3 separate regions of the Homo sapiens genome follow, and all the other regions are linked to region 3. Evidence: promoter capture Hi-C in human tissues and cell types (Jung and others, 2019). All regions are on one chromosome and are shown on one strand. Each heading gives the region's core, a stretch centred on a gene start or on the middle of the fragment in contact. The rest is flanking DNA. Distances are from core to core; before and after follow the strand shown.

Evidence for each region. Contacts are between HindIII fragments. The study calls those that stand out against the background at their distance.
Region 1: a fragment that was not itself captured here is called in contact with the fragment with the promoter of PRRC1 in region 3 in 1 of the 25 tissues and cell types used here (spleen).
Region 2: a contact is called between a fragment that was not itself captured here and the fragment with the promoter of PRRC1 in region 3, in 1 of the 25 tissues and cell types used here (aorta).

The regions. Positions count from the first base shown.
Region 1 is chr5:128,188,863-128,192,943 of GRCh38, reverse strand. SLC12A2 (solute carrier family 12 member 2) reads right to left here. Exons shown (of 27, transcript NM_001046.3): 27 at 3,267-4,081. Among named protein-coding and RNA genes, the nearest start is that of SLC12A2, 110 kb to the right of the region's middle. The HindIII fragment of the contact is 3,650 bases long and covers 812-4,081 here.
Region 2 is chr5:126,956,259-126,960,066 of GRCh38, reverse strand. All of the region lies in intron 1 of MARCHF3 (membrane associated ring-CH-type finger 3), which reads left to right. Among named protein-coding and RNA genes, the nearest start is that of MARCHF3, 72 kb to the left of the region's middle. The HindIII fragment of the contact is 3,661 bases long and covers 1-3,529 here.
Region 3 is chr5:127,515,342-127,519,346 of GRCh38, reverse strand. It overlaps PRRC1 (proline rich coiled-coil 1), which reads right to left and starts at 1,707. Exons shown (of 9, transcript NM_130809.5): 1 at 1,571-1,707. RefSeq lists an enhancer at 1,530-1,709 and a silencer at 1,770-1,839. The HindIII fragment of the contact is 6,341 bases long and covers 1-4,005 here.

The sequences.
Region 1 (4,081 bases), core at 1,387-3,886, 670 kb before region 3:
ATGTTGCCAAGGCCAGTATTGAAATCCTGGTTCCACCGATACTCCCGCCTCAGCCTCACATAGTGAGATTACAGGCGTGAGCCACCATGCCTGGCCTCCTTTTTTTTCAATAATAAAATCTGTTTTAAATGGAGAATCTACTTCAAGTCAAGTGGGCACAAGATTCATGTCTAATCAATGGCATGGCTGAATTGGGGGGATCACATTTCCCAAACTGAGCCCATTGGGACCCTTCCCTAGTCTTTTCTGCCAAAGCTTATGAGGAGACACCACCTTTTTACTGCAGCTGTTGTTAAGCCACCAGGACTGAGTATGGTTTTCTCAGAAGCCACAGAGCACACTACATGATGACAGTCTATGTGAAGAACTGTCACGCTTAGAAAGGCAAACCAGAGAAGGAAAGATGAGCCCTAAGGACCCCGTTCCAAGTCCCTGCTTACACTCACTGAAGTCCCTAAGCTCAGCTGCCTTCTATGGCTTCCTTTTTCTGTTACCCACCTTTGGGTTCTGTTCTTGCCACTGACAAAGACCTAATATAAAAGGGAAACACTGAGCAATTTGGAAAGGAGATAATCATTTGAATTCACAGCTGGTGTTAAGGGGAGATGGAAGTTACATGTATACCATGAAAGAAAGGACAAAAGGAAGTGTAAAGAAGGGAGGTTATATTGAGAAGTAGCCTACGTGAAGAATTTCACTTAGAGATTATGTGGCAGGACTAAAGTATGTGTTAACAAGCCCTGCCATTGATTCTGAGGCACACTAAAGTTTGGGAACCACTGTTCTAATCAATGTTTCAATACAAAATATACCTGTGCTTCCTTACCAATTTTCTGAAAAAACCCAAGTGCGAAATTTATGTTAATACTACTAAACTCACAAGGGCATGGACAGTAAGCAATGGATAGTCTTTACTGATGGAAAGACCACAGAGAAAACAGACTACCTGAAAGATGTAGATTATTATAGCTCTGAGACTGGCACCGTGTAGCTAACAGAAGGTGCTGGTTGTGTCAACAGATTTAAAAATTCAGAAAAAAACTAACTTCTTCACAGTTCACTATTTCCCAAAAGGAAATATGACACTAAGACTTAAAGGCACATATTTTGCAATTCATAAACCTTTTCTTGGAGCATAATTTTTCATCTCACTGTCACCAGCCACCTCCTTCCCAAACTGTCCTTGTCATCTTCTAAATTTCTTAAATAGTAACATTTCTTAGGAACTCAGAGGATAGTTTTCATGGCTTAAGCAAAAATGTTGTAAACTTAAAAATAATCTGTGACTTTCTGGTTATCCAAATGCATGCCTATAGATTGCTCCTTTTCAAATTGTGACTTCCTTGAAAAAATGGCTCAACTGAAGCTTAATTTAGAATGTAAAAGAGCAAATGTAGTATCTTTTAGTAGTTATACACCTTTATATGTACCTTATATAAATAAATATGAACAGTGCCTACTTAATTTTAAAACTGTCTTTTTTAGTATATCTTAGAGATATAATAGCTGGATATAAAGTCACCCTATAAATTGCTTGCTTTCTTAAGACGAAGTTAACTCTTCCAGGATGAAACCTCCACAATTCTCTACCTCAAAAGCTTCGGTAGTATTCTAACAAAATTCTGACAAGTATTGAGTCAGATTTTGGCATTCAATACCAATGGATCCTGATCCTGTTTTGTGGATCAAAAAAGTAAGCTTATTTTCATTTGTAGCTTTGGGTAGAATACACTGGTAGTTTGTATTCATATCCTAGAATCGTGGAACAAAGGATATGTGTTACCAATACACTATCATTTTGGGGAATGAGTTCCTGATCTGTGAGGACAGCAGCCACAAGGAAGGCTGCACAGCAGGAGGGGACAAATGCAGAGGCATTCACATTTTCCCTAATAGTTTCAAACTTTTACCTTGTCTAAGAAAAAATTAAAAGGTAGATTTAAGGAGGGAAAAAAATGGGCTGAGGTTCTTAATGCTATCATTTAACAGACCATGTTAAATGCCCATCATATAGGTAAAACAGGTCCATCACCATTGCCACCAGATTCCATACAGGACAATGAGACTTAGATCCTTAGGTATTCGACTACTACCAAAAAAAATATGTCAAGTTGGTTAACCCACCAACATGTTGTATTTATTATCTGAACTAGAGAAACTAAATAGTACTTTCTATTGAGCATATCCTAGAACTTGTACCATCTTTTCCCCAAAAGTTAAACATTAAACTACCATCTATTTCCTCTGGACCTACAAACTTCCTATAGGTACATAAACATAAAGAGGGAAGCATATCAAATGGATTTATCTTTTCTTCCTGGTGAGTGAACAACAAAAGCCTGCTGGCTCAAAGGTGAATGATGTTCCTGTTTTAAAAACTGTTGGATGGTCTGATATTAGAAAATGTCACATACATAGTTGCCTTCAAATTCTCTTTTAGCTTTCCAAATAAGTGAGTAAACTGGCCTGAATAGTGGCTTGAGAATAAGGAAGATGACAAATCAAAAAATGGATATTTACATTTTGTTTCAAACCTATTAAAGGCAGCCTGTAGCCAACCTATATTTCTAACTATAATTTGCCTTACCTGAACACACATTTACTGGGCGGACAGGTGTAAGTAATTTGGAAATGACCAATCTGGAAATGACCAATCTATCCCAGCCATCTATCTTATGGATCAGCCAGCAGTGAATGCATAATAAAGAAATTCCTGGGGATAAAAGACCTGGGCTCTAGACCAATATCCTTCCTTGATTTACCCCATGACCTTGGAAAACTCCCTAAACTGCTCCAAGCTGCTTTCTCAAGAGTAAAAGAAATAGCTGTCCTGCATATATACACACCTACAGTCATATTCAAATGAGAAAATGAAAATGCTTTCTAAAACTCTAAATGAGCTTAGACAAAAATCTTTGGAAGGAAAGAATCAGATTATATTCAGGGACTATGAATCGCTTTTAATCTTCCAGTTTCCTCATTCACAAATGAGAGATCTGGCCCAAAGATAAAGCAGAATTAGAAAAGCTAGGTCACTTAAAAAAATACCATAATGAGCTGCATCTCAGATGGTTCAGTCATACTGTGAGCATCAACAGTGATTATTGCAAAGGTTTAAGAATAGTGAACGACTTTTCCAGGGCGTGAATATTAAGGTAAAAGCTATTTTAAAAATTCAGAAATGAATGAAGCAATAGTTATCGAAATGAGATAAAACCACAAAGCTGGCAAAGACTTATTAAACAGATATAAGAATGGACATTAAATAGGTTTAATGAATCCACTTCCTTTATTGCAGTAACCTCTGTACAAAGCAGCAACTGCAATACTCAAGGTTAAAACATTAGAAAAGCATTTGTGTGACAGGTATATTACAGTATTATCAAAATATTACATTTTCAGACTTACTTAGCAGATAATCATCCACCAGAGCTTAAATCTTTAAATTATTTCCATAGTCTTAAAAAATATGTAATGTCAGAATGCATATAAAAAGAATGTAAAAGGAAACCTAAAATACAAATGGAATAATGTAACAAATAAATATTTGATTTCAGTAACTGTTAATAATCAGCTCAACACCACCATTCTCTCTAAACTCAATTTAATTCTTATAGGAATAATGAACTGTCAAATGCCATGGCATAATTATTTATTTCCAAGCTATCATCAATGATTAGAACTAAAAAAAATTTGGCATAAAAAAATCACAATTCAGCATAAATAAAGCTATTTTTAGCTTCAACACTAGCTAGCATCTCTAAGAATTGTTGAAATAAGTACTATAACCTTGAAAATTTTCGACCTGGTGTCTAGTGTTAAGTGAAAGTAATGCATTTTTTTTAAGTGAAAAGCTTCTTACATTATTTCACAGACAGTATTACCCACCCCACATTATGAATAGTTAGATATATTTTATGTACTTTATACCCACATGTATGACGCATGACATTTGGTTCCTGTAGTACAGATCACAATGTTGTTTTCCTGAATGGGAAAAACTTAAAAAAAAAAAAAAAAAAGGTAAGTGTACCTGTGCACATTTCAAGATAGCAGCACTCAGTCCATGCCCTATTATCCA
Region 2 (3,808 bases), core at 450-2,949, 560 kb after region 3:
TAGCAGGGAATATCACACAGCTTGACTTCATAGCATTCTAAAACTCTAACTCAAACCCCTCCTGCTGCAATTTATGCCCATTTCTTCTTGCGGTTTTCTCAGAGGAGCTCTTAGAGCATAACTGAGTGCCTTCGGTGGAACTATAACTAACTAATAACCTAGGAGACAAAGGTACATTGGTAATTAGTAGAGGAAGTGCTGCTGGTCGGAATACCAAGCAATGCTTACTGTCTATTAGTTACTGAGTTGTTTTCCATGGAGGTATAGTAATTACGGCTTTAAGAACATTCAAAAATTATTGGCCGTGATCATTTAAGGTGTGATTATTTTCTAAATAAACTCTTTTTTAGAACAGTTTTGTAGTGACAGGAAAAAATTGCTAAGATATTACAGGGATTTTCCCTATTCCTTGCACCTTCTTTCCCCTATTATTAATGTCTTACATTAGTGTGGTATATTTGTCAGAACAAAGGACCAAGATTGATGCATTATTATGATATTAGCTAAAGTCCATACATCATTCATATTTACTTAGATTTTACCTAACATTCTTTTTGTGTTTCAGGATCCCATCCAGGAGCCTATGATACATTTAGTTTTCATTGCCTCCTTGGACTCCTCTTGGCTGGGATAGTTTCTCAGACTTTCTTTGTTTTTGATGACCTAGATAGTTTTGAGAAATGCTGGTCAGCTATTTTGTAAAAAGTCCCTTTTTTGGGACTGTTTGGGATTTGTTTGCTGTTTTTCACATAAATAGACTGGGATTATGGATTTAAGGGAGGAAGCCCATAGAAGTAAAGGGCTATTTTTCATCACATCATATCAAGGAAACATACTACCAACATGCCCTATCACTGTTGATGTTGACCTTGATCACCTGGCTGAGGTAGCGTTTGTCAGGTTTCTTCATAGTAAAATTATTCCTTCCCCCTTTCCATACTATAGCCTTTGGAAGAGATGGCCTATACTCAAGGAATAGGGAGTTACGCTCCACTTCCTTATGGTCAGTGTTGGTCAGTGTCCACATAAATTATTTGGATTTCATCTGCACAAGAGATTTGTCTTTTCTCCCCCTTCCCCTTTATTTATTCAATCATTTATTTAAAGCAGTGTGGACTAATGGGTATTCATTTTATACTTTGGCAATAATATAATACTTCACTTATTTCGTTACTTAGATTGTTCCACTGTTGGTCATTAGTGGTAGCTCATTCACTTGGATCCTATGTTGCTTTAAAATAGCCCCATCATTGTGGAGTTAGGTTTGTTTTAATTGCACATTACACTTAAAAATCAGTCAAATGGCCGTTGTCAACTTGTCTCCTCTGTGTGCCAGGAATCAATCAATTTCTATTCAAGTAAACAAGTGGCATTTTTAAAAAAAAAGTCACATTTGATTATTAACTAGAAGAATATTCAGTACCCTTGATCTGTCTTCTATATACTTCCCAGTCCTGACACCCTTTTTGGATTCAAAGATTAATTAATTTAAAGGCAGTGATGAGCAGATTAGATCAGAAGTAACTAGGGACCTAGAATGGAATATGAAGAATTAGATCATGAAAAAGAAAAAATACAGAATACAAAAGCAGTGGGCTTTTAGAAGTTTAAGAAAATTGAACTCTGTAAAGAAAAAGCTTTAATTCAAGAAAAAGTAAGCAAGCTAGACCATTTATTAAACTAATATACATCTTAATATAATCACTTGTCTTGGCCAGAGAAACAATATAGAGGACGGTTAATGGTAAACTGGAAGCACCTTATTAAAATCAAGTAACCTTATTAAAATGTAAAACAAGACAAAGATATTCCCTGTCATCATGATCATTCAGTATTATTCTGGAAGCTACTGCCCATCTAAGAAACAGAAAGCAGAGAAAAGGAGGAGAAAGATAGCCATGATTTGTATGTTATATTTCTGTTTACCTAGAAACTTAAAAGAATCAACACAAAGTAATAAATAAAAATTTGATAATAAAAATCTGTATACAAAATAAAACTAAAATCAATAGCTTTCCCGTGTATGGGCAATAAGTAGTTATAACATGTAATGGGAAATGTCCCATTTACAAGAGTATAAAATATTCAGTAATAAATCTATATTTGGAAAACTAAAATACTGAGCAAAATAAAAGAAAATTTGAATAAATACTATGTTCCTAGATGAGAAAACTAAATATTTGCAAGACACAATTCTTTCTATATTATTGTTCAGCTTAAATACATTTTTAACAAGGTAACAATTTTAGATGATGATTTTAAAAATATCAGGAAGGATAAACAACAGAAATGATGAGTAAAATCTGAGCACAGTAATGTTGGGAATCTTCCTCTACCAGTTATTAAAAATGAATTATAAGTCTATAATAATTTTTAAATGTGATGTTTTACAAAAATAGATTAATGAAGCAGAATCTAGGAACAGATTCAAGTATGTATAAGAATTTACTACAGATAAAGATGACATATAAATAAAGAAGTTATCAAAAATAAGATTGATCCAATTGAGAAACCATTGGGAGAAAATGAAAGTTACTTTTTAACATCATGCAATACACCAAAATAAATTACAAATGGATTGAAGGTTTTATGAAATCATAAAGCTATAGAAAAATCTAGGATGAGTATTTATCTGCACTTGGAAGTACAGGAATGATGGAAGAGACTGCAGAAAAAATGATTGATAGGTTTAACTTCTAAAGCTTATGTGTCAAATAGCCTGTAAACAAAATTAGAAGACAAATAACTGAATGTTTTTAAAGTTAAACATATGTGACAAAAGGTTACTATCTTTAATATATACATGGAATTCTTAAGCACCACTAATAAAAAGGCAAAAAATATAACTCAATAGGAAAGTAAGGAAAAGACATGAATAGACAAATAAAAAAGACTAAATACTATGGCCAAGAAACGTGATAAAGTTTTAAAGGAATATTTATTACTTAATGTATATTTACTAAAATGTTTATGTCAAAAAAAACTCTAATAAAAGAATACCATTCTTAGCCGGGCACAGTGGCACCATGGCATGTGCCCATAGTCCCAGCTACTCAGGAGGCTGAGGTGGGAGGATCACCTGAAGCCAGCAGGTCCAGGCCAACCTGGGCAACATAGTGAGACCCCATATTTTAAAAAGAAAGAAACACCGTTCTTAACCTGCCAATTCAAAGAGATGTTTTAAATGATAAAACCTAGTCATGACAAAGATTTGGTGAAATGGGCAGTTTCGTTCAACTACTGATGAAAGTAAAATGTTCACAGAAAATGGAAACTTTTAGTGAGGAAGGCATTAGTGGAAAGTGGATTGGGATGCAGGTTAAGATCTGAGTTCAAGCTTTCTGGGTTTTTTTTTGTTATTGTTTGTTTTTTTGTTTTTGTTGTTGTTTTTTTGGTTTTTTTTTTTTTTTTTTTTTTTTTTGGAGACAGAGCCTCACTCTGTTGCCCAGGCTGGAGTACAGTGGCGCAATCTTGGCTCACTGCAACTTCCACCTCCCAGGTTCAAGTGATTCCCCTGCCTCAGCCTCCCAAGTAGCTGGGATTACAGGTGCCCGCCACCACACCTGGCTAATTTTGTTTTTTTGTATTTTTAGTAGAGACAGAGTTTCACTGTATTTTCAGGCTGGTCTCGAACTCCTGGGCTCAAGCTATTTGCATTCCTTGGCCTCCCAAAGTGCTGAGATTACAGGCGTGAGCCACCATGCCTGGACCTAGTTCAAGCTTTCTAATTGTCTTGCTGTGTAAACCTGAATGGGAAATATAAGATCTCTGCATCTTTGTTTCTTCATTTATAAACAAAGAGGCTTGG
Region 3 (4,005 bases), core at 458-2,957:
GGAAAGATCTATGGCACTAAGCAGAGAACAGGGATCCGGGGAGGCTGAATCCTTTCATTCAGTACCTATACATCGAAGGTAAATAACCTGAGATAGAAATGCCCCTTTGGAGATTTTACCACTCCTCAACCAAAGCTCCCTCTTTTCTTCATTTAATTTTTTATTGGTCATTCACCCTCTACTACAGATGCTCCCCAATCCTTACAATGACTAGTAGAAGTCCTATTGTAAGAGAATCCCTAACATTAACAAATGTGTCTGCAAAAGAAACTGTACAATGAATACAAAGTCATTAAGTGGAATAAATAATCAATTTCTTTGTCTTTAATGGCTTTTTATATGAAAACTGCCGTAATGGCAATACTGAGGTAAATTTTACATGCATAAACATAGTGCCTTCTACTAAAAAAACCTATTATGATAAAACAATACTGAAGTGTCAGAGTTGGTAACTGTTTTAGGGCTCAAGTCTTGTCACGAAAAGTACTATTCATATATCAACACTAAAGAAAAAGTGAAGAAAATGGTTTGGAAAACTGAGTTCTCAGTCCGGCTAGACCCTGTTGTTCCAATTTGCTTGTGCCTTGGTTTTTCTGTTAAAAAAAAAAAAAAAAAGTGGATGTCTATTTACAAGTTTACAAGAAATGGAAGAGTGAAGCTCTGATAAACTTTAAAGCATTAAGAGCAATTATTGCTGACCTACTCGTGCCACAAGATTGTCTCTACTACCAAACAGTGAGCGCTAGTTAGAGCCTAATCTGACCCCGAAATAAAATTTTATAAATTTTCACTGAATTAAACACTGGCTGCACAGGAGAAAGACTGAATGCCAAGATGTGTCACGATCGCAGAAATGCACATGTTGTCTCTCAAAATAACTACTTCGAATGACAAAAACACTATTGGCTATAAATTCTGTCAATCTAGGAAACGTGCTATCTGCAAATTTGCCTGAAGCAGGTCCCAAGACCAAACAAAGAAACGAGAGAATGCAAAAACTCTCCCAAGCGGCGCTAAGCACCGATGGGGTAACCTCAGGGAAAATAAGCTTCCTTTCATTGCAGGTCCTGGTGTGATGACTCTCGAGCCTCCTGGGCCTCTCCAGGGCCAGAGCGGCCGAAATCCTGTTTCAGGAGACAGCGGCTTCCCCTCAGGCTCTGCCACGTCTCCAGGCCAGACAGGGCCGGGCTAAGGTCCGCCGGCGCTCCCGCCAGTCTCCCCTAAAGTCAGCGCCCTGGAAGGTGGGGCCAGAGCGCTCCTGCCTTGGTCCTTGGACAGGAGCAAAGTGTCGCGGGGCGAGACCCTCGAACCGCGCCCACCGTGCCATCCCCAGCGGAAACTGCTCACCTTGCGATGTGCACTCCTGCCTGCTGCACCCCGCACGCCGCCACAGCTGAGCCTGGACCACGGGACTAGGGGGCTCGCAAACGACATCGGCGTCCAGTGGCGCCGGCCGGCCCGCCCACCTTCCAGGGACACCGTCCCTCGGGGTCTGGCTCTGGCGCCTGCAAGCCATGCCATGCCATGCCACCCCCCTCATACACGCCCCTCGGAGCCACCTGGCGCTCACCTGGGGACCGGGAAAGTGCCTGCGTGGTCGCTGAAGAGTGTGGTATGATAGGGAGGTCGGGACGTAGAACTACAGCTTGGAGAAGACAACGAAGGCGCACCCTGGAAGTTACCTCGGCGTGTCCCCGCCTACAAGATGGCCACGGGCGGCGCATGCTCCTGCGGCTGCCACGTCGGCCGCGCGCCGCACCGCGCCGCGCGTCGCCGCCCCGCCCCGCTCCGCCCCGCATCGCATCGCCCCGCTCCGCCTCCGCATCGCCCCGCCCCCCCTGTCCCATGCGCTGTGAACCCGGCCGGGACGCTGCAAGTTAAACTTTGGAGCCAAGATCTTCCTAACTACCGAGACTTGGTTCTGCCCACACCCTCTAGAAACATCTTCCAAAGGGCTGGCCTCCTTTCTACTTCGCAGCCCCCTTACACGAGAGTGGCACTCTTGTTACCAGGCGTAGCTCACTCATCCTGTGCCACAGCGGCCCAAGGGATAAGATCAGTTAGCCAAGGTCATCTGGTTGGCGGTCATCTAGCCAACATCAGCTAGTCCAGTCAGCACCTCCAGGAAGGACCTCGCGGCAGATACAGGGGACTTAGCCTGTATAGTCAAAGATTTCCAGATAACAGTGATTATATCAGGAGAGAGGGATTAGGAGAAGAGGGAGAGGGGAGAAGAGTAGCAGTTACTGTACTGAATTTTTCCCCAAGTGCATGTATTGCACATTCTTTTTTTAATTGTAAAATAGACAGATTATCAACTTTCTTATTATATGCTGCACCTAACACAGTACCTGAAATAGTTGGTGTTCAATAATGTACATTAAATAAATTAATGGAGTGCGATAGAGGAAAATAAGGAACTTCAAATCAGAAGTCTTGATTTGAGTCTGAGACTACTCTAATGCCAGTTGTACAGTTGCCTGCCCTTGTACAGGTCACTTAGTCTCCATAAGTCTTCATATTTCTACCTGCAAACTGAGAATAATACTATCCACCATCCCTAAATCAGGCAGGTGACAGACTCAAATAAAATAGAGCATATGAAAATTTTTTAAACTTTTTGTCTTTTTGAGATGGTGTCTTGCCCTGTTGCCCAGGCTGGAGTGCAATGGCGCCATCTCGGCTCACTGCAACCTCTGCCTCCCGGGTTCAAACGATTCTCCTGCCTCAGCCTCCCGAGTAGCTGGGATTACAGGCACAGGCCACCACACCCAGCTAATTTTTGTACTTTTAGTAGAGACAGGGTTTCACCATTTTGGCCAGGCTGGTCTCGAACTCCTGACCTCGGCCCGCCTCGGCCTCCTAAAGTGCTGGGATTACAGGCGTGAGCCACCGCACCTGTCCGAAAACATTTTTTAAATTGCTTAGCATTAAATATATAAAAAATTGTTTTTGTTGTTCTCAATTTTTTTTCAGGAACTCACTTAGAGATTTCACATTAATCTATCTCTTGAGCTTCACAGTTGTAAGCATTCCAAAATACCTCACTGAAAAGTTAATACTATGTAGCAATACTCTGACTTCAGATCTCACTGTGCAACTACCATGGGCGGTTTTCTTTGGCGGTGGCTCCTATCCTCTAAGAATGTGTGTAGGTGGAGATCCAGGTTACTGTCCGGATCGTGCTGTTTGGGGTGGTGCTAAAGACAGATAACCATCTTCATCCTCTCTGATCAACACCCTTAATAGCTATAAGGTATGTTGGTTTCTCCATCCTTTCAGCAAATATTTATTAGTGGCTGCAATGTGCTGAGCATTGGTACTGGAAATGCAGTAACGAACAAGACAGACAAGGTCTTGATACCTAGGGAGCGTTCTTTATAATAGGAGAGAGGGTAGGAACAGGAAAATAAAGTAAGTACTGTTTGTGATGTGCAGTTTGAGGAGTCAACAAAGAGTGATGTAATATTGACAGTAATTGGAGTAGACCACTTCAGATAGGATGAATGGGCAAGGCTTCTCTGAATAGGTGAGATGTGAGCAGAGACGTGTAATGCAGCAGGCCTGTGCTTATCCGGACAGAAAGAAGGGCATGCAAAGACTTAAGGATGGAGTGTGCTCGGCATGTGCGCAGACAACAGGGAAGCAGGACTGTGAGAATGGTAAAGAAGACAGGACAGGGAGTGGGGCCAGATCGTGTCTAGCCTTGTAGGTCATGGGAAAGCCTTTGATTACACTCTGAGAGAAATGAGAAGCACGTGGAGGGTTTTGAGCAGAGAACTGACAATATTTGATATCAATTTCTGATCACACTCTGATTGCTGTGTGACTGCAGTCCATGTGAGGATGAGTGCAGGATGACCAGTAATGAGATGATGATGGCTTAGTGTCCCTAATGGAGGTGGAGGTGGCACACGGTCTGGATGTATTTTGAAGATGGAGCTGTCATGATTTACTGATGGGTTGGGAGTAAGCTGCATTAGTTTCCTAAGATTATCATAACAA